Regions from separate parts of the Homo sapiens genome. Here all the other regions are linked to region 3. Evidence: promoter capture Hi-C in human tissues and cell types (Jung and others, 2019). All regions are on one chromosome and are shown on one strand. The core of a region is centred on a gene start or on the middle of the fragment in contact, and the rest is flanking DNA. Distances in the headings are between cores, read along the strand shown. Region 1 overlaps SOAT1 (sterol O-acyltransferase 1). Region 2 overlaps ABL2 (ABL proto-oncogene 2, non-receptor tyrosine kinase). Region 3 holds the start of C1orf220 (chromosome 1 putative open reading frame 220).

Evidence for each region. Contacts are between HindIII fragments. The study calls those that stand out against the background at their distance.
Region 1: a contact is called between a fragment that was not itself captured here and the fragment with the promoter of C1orf220 in region 3, in 1 of the 25 tissues and cell types used here (spleen).
Region 2: a contact is called between a fragment that was not itself captured here and the fragment with the promoter of C1orf220 in region 3, in 2 of the 25 tissues and cell types used here (aorta and hippocampus).

The regions. Positions count from the first base shown.
Region 1 is chr1:179,345,756-179,348,455 of GRCh38, forward strand. SOAT1 (sterol O-acyltransferase 1) reads left to right here. Exons shown (of 16, transcript NM_003101.6): 12 at 1,845-1,942. Among named protein-coding and RNA genes, the nearest start is that of AXDND1, 19 kb to the right of the region's middle. The HindIII fragment of the contact is 9,338 bases long and covers 1-2,700 here.
Region 2 is chr1:179,118,863-179,121,562 of GRCh38, forward strand. ABL2 (ABL proto-oncogene 2, non-receptor tyrosine kinase) reads right to left here. Exons shown (of 12, transcript NM_007314.4): 6 at 1,328-1,412. Among named protein-coding and RNA genes, the nearest start is that of TOR3A, 38 kb to the left of the region's middle. The HindIII fragment of the contact is 4,159 bases long and covers 1-2,700 here.
Region 3 is chr1:178,541,353-178,544,052 of GRCh38, forward strand. It overlaps C1orf220 (chromosome 1 putative open reading frame 220), which reads left to right and starts at 1,444. Exons shown (of 3, transcript NR_033186.1): 1 at 1,444-1,533. LOC124904460 (a long non-coding RNA gene) reads right to left here and starts at 1,293. Exons shown (of 2, transcript XR_007066748.1): 1 at 682-1,293; 2 at 1-474. RefSeq lists an enhancer at 1,139-1,198 and silencers at 1,249-1,578, 1,609-1,678. The HindIII fragment of the contact is 22,776 bases long and covers 1-2,700 here.

The DNA.
Region 1 (2,700 bases), core at 149-2,648, 800 kb after region 3:
CCCAGGCCATTCTCAAACTCCTGGGCTCAAGTTATCCTCCTGTCTCAGCCTCTCAAAGTGCTGGGGTTACAGGCTTGAGCCACCATGCTTGGCCTTTTGCCACTATTTCTTATTTTCCTCCTGTCTTTCCGACCATACCTTGATTTCTTAAATATATTTATTGCATTTTTTTGTCTATTATAGAGATATATGAGTACCTAGTACTATGCCAGGTGCAGAGGACTCAGAAGTGAACAAGAGATGTATTATCTTTACAGTCTGGGAGCTTTTATAGTTTCCCTTACTTTTCCTCTTTTCTTTACTCATTGAATGTTGGTAATGTTTTCTGTCATCACCTTCCCTTTCTTTTCTTCTCTTGCATTCCTCTTCCAGTAACCCTCCCTCACCAGCCCCAGGACTTATTTGAATGAACTCTGTATCTGTCCCTAAAATAGAATATGTGTTACATACTTGAGTGTCTTCCTCACTAGCTGCAAAGTTATTGAGTTCAAGGATTGTGTTTTATAGCCAATCACAGTCTCTCTCATATTGTCTGGTACATAGTTGATGCTCTATAAATATATATTTTTCAATAAATGAGTGAAAGAGATGGACATATAAATGGATATTTTACAATATATTGTAATATGTACTACATAAGTAGGATAAACAAAATGCTTATGGCCTTTGTTTCACATTAGAGATAACATTTAATATTGGGTATTGAAAAATAGGTAGGTATTTGCCTGGCAGAGAATTGGTGGAAAGGTCATTCTAGGTAGTGGGATGGATGCAAGGGCATGGAGCATTCTGGAATGGCATAAACCCAGTTGTGGATAATGTTTACAACACTTAGAGGGTAGAATCACTGGAGATATGTTTAGAATGTTATCCATGTCACTATGTTAACCATGTCACTATTAACATTTTGGACTGGTTAATTCTTTGTTTGGAGTGGCATTCTTCTGCATTGTAGCATAAACTGTTCAGCAGCATCCTGGCCTCTAACAACTAGATACCAGTGGCACCACTCCCTCTCCTCCAATTGTCACAGCACTGGTGCAGTAGCTTGCACCGGTAGTCCCAGCTATTCTGGAGGCTGAGGTGGGAGGATCACTTGAGCCCCAGGAGTTGAAGTTCAGCCTGGGCAACATAGTGAAACCCTGTCTTTTAAAAACAAAAAGTCTCTAGAATTTCAAATGTCCTGTGGGGGAGAGGGGGCAAAATCTCTCCCAGTTTTAAACAATTGTTTAAGAGGGGGGTATGGGGGCCAGATTTTTAAAGGACCTTGGGTACTAAGTTAAGCCATATATTTAGGCATTTCTTAAAAACAGACTGGGTAGGCTGGGCGCGATGGCTCACGCCTGTAATCCTAGCACTTCGGGAGGCTGAGGTGGGCAGATCACAAGGTCAGGAGATTGAGACCTGCCTGGCCAACATGGTGAAACCCGGTCTCTACTAAAAATACAAAAAATTAGCCAGATGTGGTGGTACATGCCTGTAGTTCCAGCTACTTGGGAGGCTGAGGCAGGAGAATTGCTTGAACCCTGGAGGCAGAGGTTGCAGTGAGCCGAGATCGCGCCACTGCACTCCAGCCTGGGTGACAGAGCAGGACTCTGTCTCAAAAAAGAAAAAAAAAAACCAGACTGGGTAATGTCATTTGTTGAACCCACTTTGAAGGAAGTTACTGTTTTAAAATTAAGATAATTAACTCCAAAAGTATATCATCTCTGGAATGGGTAAACTGGAATAATAACTTATATTTTACAAAATAATCCCAGCTAAATAAAATGATGTGATATAATTAGTTGCTTGGTATGTGAGCTATTTGGAAAGACTGTTAATATTGTTAATCTTATTTTTAGGTGTGCTGATTCTCTTCCTTACTTTTTTTGCCTTTTTGCACTGCTGGCTCAATGCCTTTGCTGAGATGTTACGCTTTGGTGACAGGATGTTCTATAAGGTAGTATATACTTAGACTTAGCTTTCTTTTTACATTTTATTAACTTCTTCATTATTAGTATTTTGACATTGTTGGCTAATGTCACCAGCCTTTCACACAAACATTGTGAAATAATTTTCTTTTCTACAAGTTTTGCCAGTATTTTCTGAAATTCGGTTACAGATATAACTAGCATAACCTTGTGTTTTCTTCTGTCTCTAATATCTGCTCCCTTAACATAAGCACATGGTTTCTGCTGGATCCTGCAAGGATATATTGGTGATTCCAGTAGGAAACTGTTTGTTCAGAGCACACCATGAGACTTCCCTGAGTGTTCATTCATTTGAAATGGACCGTCTAGTTCTGTAGGAATGACCTCAGCAAATTATTCCATTTAAGACAATTGAGCAGTTCATGAGGGAAATAACTTTTCCCTCTTTAGTTTTGAAAGGTGTTAATTTTGCTTCAGATAGTATCCTTATGCTTCTAAAGTTGGAATTAAGCTATAGAATTAGAGTCAGAATGGCTCATAGCATTCTTTAACCCTACCTAAAGCTCTCTTTGAGTTGTTTTTGGCAACACTCCAAGTCTACCACCTTTTTTCTCAAAGAAACTTTAAGTGTGGATTGCAGATTTTAGATACCTGATTTCATTCATCTGATCTTAATATTGGGAGCAAGAAGCATATATAGGGATACCAGGACTTTGAGGTAGCCACCATCTCACCCTGGATAATTTTGCCATTTATGGTAACCACCAAACAGCTCTCTAGTGTTAGC
Region 2 (2,700 bases), core at 120-2,619, 580 kb after region 3:
CGGCAATAATCTTTTCCCTTCTTACCACCACGTTCTCTGAAATTAATAAGCAAAAACTAAGAAGCTGGTTTATAAGGGAGTCCTTGCTTTCACTGTATTGTTCTCTGGGAATTCATATGCCTCTGAGTATTTGTCTATTTGAGCAAAAGCAGAGTTACCTGTATTAATTCTATAAGGGGCCAAGAAAACCAACATGTCTAGAGTTTTGCACATGGCCCATGATTCTCCTCCTCAACTGCAGGCTAACAATACTTATTCAAAAGTAATAGCAATTGTGCACAAGCTGAAGACTATGTGAGCCCCACCTGCAATACTGCTTTGCAAAATGATTTTCATCATTTCCATAGTCAAGGATTTCACTGATATATGGCAGATTCCTTATAAAAAACCAACAAGAGGCCGGGTGCAGTGGCTCATGCCTGTAATCCTAGCACTTTGGGAGGCTGAGGCAGGCAGATCGCCTGAGCCCAGCAGTTCAAGACTTGACTGTCCAACATAGCAAAACCCTGTCTCTACTACAAAAATTAGCTGGGCGTGGTGATGCACGTTGAGGCACGAGAATAGCTTGAACCTGGGAGGTGGAGGTTGCAGTGAGCCAGGATCATGCCACTGCACTCCAGCCAGGGTGACAGAGCAAGACTCTGTATTTAAAAAACAAACAAAAAAAAACACCCCCCACACCCCCCCAAAAAAAAGAAAAAAAAAAAAACCTGGCCCTATTTTAAAAAAGGAAAAAGGCTTAGTAAGAGAGTTCTTTGTGACCTGAACAGTGAAAAGCCAATCTAACATAATAAAGCATTTCCTGCTTGTAAAGGTAAACTGAGGGGTGTGGTCACAGTTTTTAATTTGCTTCTTTTCAACAGTCCTTTGTTTAATGTCTCTTTATTTTGCAAAAACATTTCATGAGTTTTTGGTTCAGTACCATTTTGAACACTTCTGAACTTTGAATCTGGGGCAATTAGTACAAACTGAGCAGTTTTATACACCAAAATCAATCCAGGCCACTGTTTCTTGGGCTATTTTTAAACACAGAACCTACTGATTAAAATAACTATTTATTGAAGTGGATTCAAACCTGCAGCTTCCACCATGGTGACTAAAAAGAAAGGTTTGGGGGAGGAAAAAAGGCGGGGCATGGTGGCTCATGCCTGTAATCCCAACATATTGAAAGGCCCAGGCGGAAGTATCACGTCAACAGCAGCCTGGACAACAGAGCGAGACCCTGTCTCTATATTTAAAAAGAAAAAAAAAAAGCATTTGGAGATAACAAGGGGTTAAAGGGCAAGCATTTTTGGAGGAAATCTATGGTTCAGGCAAGGTTCCTCACCTAAAAGTTGTACCAGATTAGGATGCTTGATTTCCTTCATTACTGCAGCTTCTTTCAGGAATTCTTCTACCTCCATGGTATCTTCCTAGAAAAAGGGAAAGGTAAGAAAGAAGAAAACGAGAGGGACAAACCCTCAACTTAAAATCATTTCATTCATCTCACAATCATAAAGCTTCAGCTTTAAAAGTAAAAACTATCTTTTGAATATTTTAGCATATTACAAGATATAATTATTATTTTAATTTAATTTATTTTTTTGAGACACGGTCTCGCTCTGTTACCCAGGTTGGGGTGAAGTGGTGTGATCTCACTGCAACCTCCGCTTCCTGGGCTCAAGCGATTCTCCTGGCTCAGCCTCCCAAGTAGCTGGGATTACAGGCATGCACGACCATGCCTGGCTACTTTTTGTATTTTTAGTAGAGACGGGGTTTTGCAATGTTGGCCAGGATGCTCTCCTGACCTCAGGTGATTCGCCCACCTGAGCTCCCCAAATTGCTGGGATTACAGGTGTGAGCCACCACGCCCAGCTGAAATAATTATTATTTTAAGAAGTCCAACTTAGAAAGAAAAATGCCCTGGAGTAAAAATTAGCAGGAGGAGCAAAATTCAGCAATCGTGTCCTATAATCAACTGAAACACAGGAGCCCTGTATTGGATAGTTCAGTTCTCTCATAGTTTACTTCTCCAGATATCTCAGGCTTTGAATGACGAGACAGAGCACTTAGCTGCTTACATACTTATCTTCTTGCTTAGATCATAATCTTCTTAGAGAGCAAGGCCTTATATATTGCTTCACACTCAGAATATGCTTAAGAAACAGAACTGACTACTACTTAATAGCTAAAGAATAGCCCTTATAAGTGATACACCAGAGACAGTTACTGAGGCTCTGGGAGAATCAAGTGAGTGAAAACCTTATAATTTGATACTGGGATGTTTAAAGGAGACATATAGTAGTACTACGAAAAAGATTTCTGTTAATATTAAGAAGTGATCTAACTGCAAAGAGACAGGAGGAACAAGAACAAGGGAGAGAAAGGACAGAACAAGAAAGAGGCCCATGACTCTCAGACAAGAATTCTGTCCAGCAGGGGTCGTTCTCAGGAAGCAAAAGAGCTTATTTTGCTTTTATAACTTTTAATTTGCTTCTAACCTCCCACTAAGATCTACATCAACAGCCTCCAGAGACAGACCTTTCCCACATGTGGGTTTCACTGCATTGCAGTGAATAATCTACCTCTGCATTGTCAGCAATGGCACTAGGGTTAATCATCTCAATTTGCTGATGTGCTTGGCACTAGTGGGTGGAAAGTGTTCCAAAGTTAAAGAAGGGCATGCTGATATTTCCAAGTGATTGAGCACAAAAGAAAAAG
Region 3 (2,700 bases), core at 194-2,693:
CCCATCTCTGTTGCTACCCTACTCGCCTGGGCCGCATGGTCACTTGTGGTGGTCTCCTAACTGCTCCCCTTGTGTCTACCATGGCCATCATCCCCACACCAGCTCTCCAGGTGGCAGCCAGAGTGATCTTACAAAACCGTAGGTCAGGTCATTGCCCCCTGTCAGACTCAAGCCCATCACAGCCCTTGCTATGCTGACAGGCCCATCCCACCCCAGCCCGCTCCCCCCACCACCTGCCCCCCTCCGCCACCTCACCTGTGCCTTCTGCACGCCTCTCCCACCACTCCCCCTCCCTCCCTTTACTCTGGCCACTCTGAATGTCACTGGTCCTCCTTGAGCCCTCCTGAGCCCTCTGCCCAGAGTAATGCCAGAGTGGAGGCCACAGCTGAAGGCAGAGGCTGTTGGCCTGGGGTGGAGAGGGGAGATTCCTCTGGGTGGAAGGTGACATTGGGCAGCCTTGGATGAAGTGAATACCTGGTGTGGGGAAGCAAAAATAAATAGAGAAACAAACGGATTAATTTTGCTTCTTTCCAGGGACTTGATTTTCTACAAGTGCTGCTCCAAGAGGCTTCTACACCCCCGCAGGGAGGCAAGCACCGTTTTGAGGTGGCCGGGCTGGCGAGGAGGTGCAGACCCCAGCCAGCTGGAGGGGCTCTGCCCTGATGGCGTTCCCACTCCCACCTCATTCGCAGGGCGCCGGGGAGGGCTGCAGGTGTTCTATTCCCACCCGGCTTGCAGCGCAAGGAGGGGAATCGCCTGACACCTTCCCCTTCTCCTCTGCCCCGCTTCCTTTCTCTGCTCCCACAGGTGGAAGTCACCAGCGGAAACAACCCTTCACTGTATGGAGGGCTGGGAGAGAGGGGCCAAGAGGGCCCCGGGAGAGCCACTGGGCGGCAGGCAAGGGGCGGGGCAGTCTCCCTTCCGGCTTCCGGGACCGAAGGGTGAAGGGCAAGGGGAGCTCAGGGAATGAACGAGTGCTCCCGACTAATGTTTAACCCACGACTCCGAGACTCCGACTGGTCACAGTCCTGCAGACCTCCAGGTCCTGCACAGGCGACGCAGCGCTCCACTGGCCCGGAATGCGCACCCCGGGGGAAATGGAAAGTGCCATTGAAATGTCAGATGTCACCGTCTTCATCAGCACTCTTGGAATTTTGGCCAAAGTGGCTTCTTCTTTTGCTGAGACTTGACTCACTCCCGGCAGAGGGATGATAGCGGCCTTGCCCCGAGCGTTTATCCGGCTGCAGGCGTCATTCTTGGTCGCCTGTGTGTCCAGAGCCCCAGCGCAGGAAGGGAGCGCAATTCCCACCGCGCCCGCTGGGTGGCGCTAGCGCCGCACCGTGTCCCGGGATGAGGGGAAACCGCGCTGCCCAGTCAGTACCCCGACGCCCCCGCGCCCCCGCCGGGCCCCGCGCGCTGCAGCCACCGCCTCTTCTCGGCTTCCTCTTGCTTTACAGTAACTCTCCTCCTGGGGAAAAGGCTTTTCACGGAGCAGGCTCGGAGCCTACGGGGCTGGCCTCGGACTGGATGGGGGTAAGGACGGGTGGCGGCGCTCGCGCCGAGCGAACGGAGGGCTCAGGCGGCCGGTGATCAGGGACGGGCTGCGGCCGCCGTCTGGGGTGAGAGGCCCACCCAGAGCTCTGGGCCAGGGCTCGCGGCTCTCGTGCAGATGCTGGGCCGGGAGGTGTGGGGAGGGGGCTTCCCAGGCGGGGCAACCGGAGGGGAATGGGGTGTGCAGGAGGGAGGGGAGGCGTGGAGCGCCCGGCCTGCAGGCACTGGGCGGCGCTCTCCAGCCTCCTCTTCTCCCGCCGGGTGCCTGGTGGCTTGGCCTCCCCTCCAGAGCTTCGCATATCCTGGCGGGAGCCGGCGCTCTCTCTCCATACTTAGGACTTGACCCTTATTCCACACCCGGGCAGGGAATCATTTGCCCAATCCGAATTTGATTTTCTGCTTGTGAGAGGAGAAACTGGTGACAGTGTCGCATGGACACTGTCGGGGAAGCCGAGACGTAGACCTGGAAGCCTGTACCAGAGGCCTTGTGGACAGCTTTGGAGCATGCATCTTAAGGCACACCACCGGTTTCTGCTGCTTTGGCACAGCCACGCAGCACCTAGGATGCTTCTCTGCACGCAGCAGAGGCCTAATCCGTGCACCCTCTGACGGTGTTGGAGGGAGCTGGGGAGCAACATCAGATTAATAGCCCCTGGGCTATTTGTATGACGTGCAGATTTCACCCTCTCATTCTTAAAGGGTGAAAGGCTGCAATTCAGAAAGGCGAAGATGGGGCCCAGGAATCTGCAATCTGCGTGGGGTTTTTTTTTTTTTTATGAAGTCTTGTTCTGTCGCTCAGGTTGGGGTGCAGTGGCGCGATCTGTGCTCACCGCAACCTGTCTTCCAGGTTCAAGCGATTATCCTGCCTCAGCCTTCTGAGTAGCTGGGACTACAGGTGCATGACACCACACCTGGCTAATTTTTGTATTTTTAGTAGAGATGGGGTTTCACCATGTTCGCCAGGCTGGTCTTGAACTCCTGACCTCAAGTGATACGCCCACCTTGGCCTCCCAACGTGCTGGGATTACAGGCATGAGCCACCGCGCCTGGCCAGAGTTTGCATTTTGTTGTTGTCGTTTGTTTGTTTGAGACGGAGTCTCGCTCTGTGGCCCAGGCTGGAGTGCAGTGGCGCCATCTCGACTCACTGCA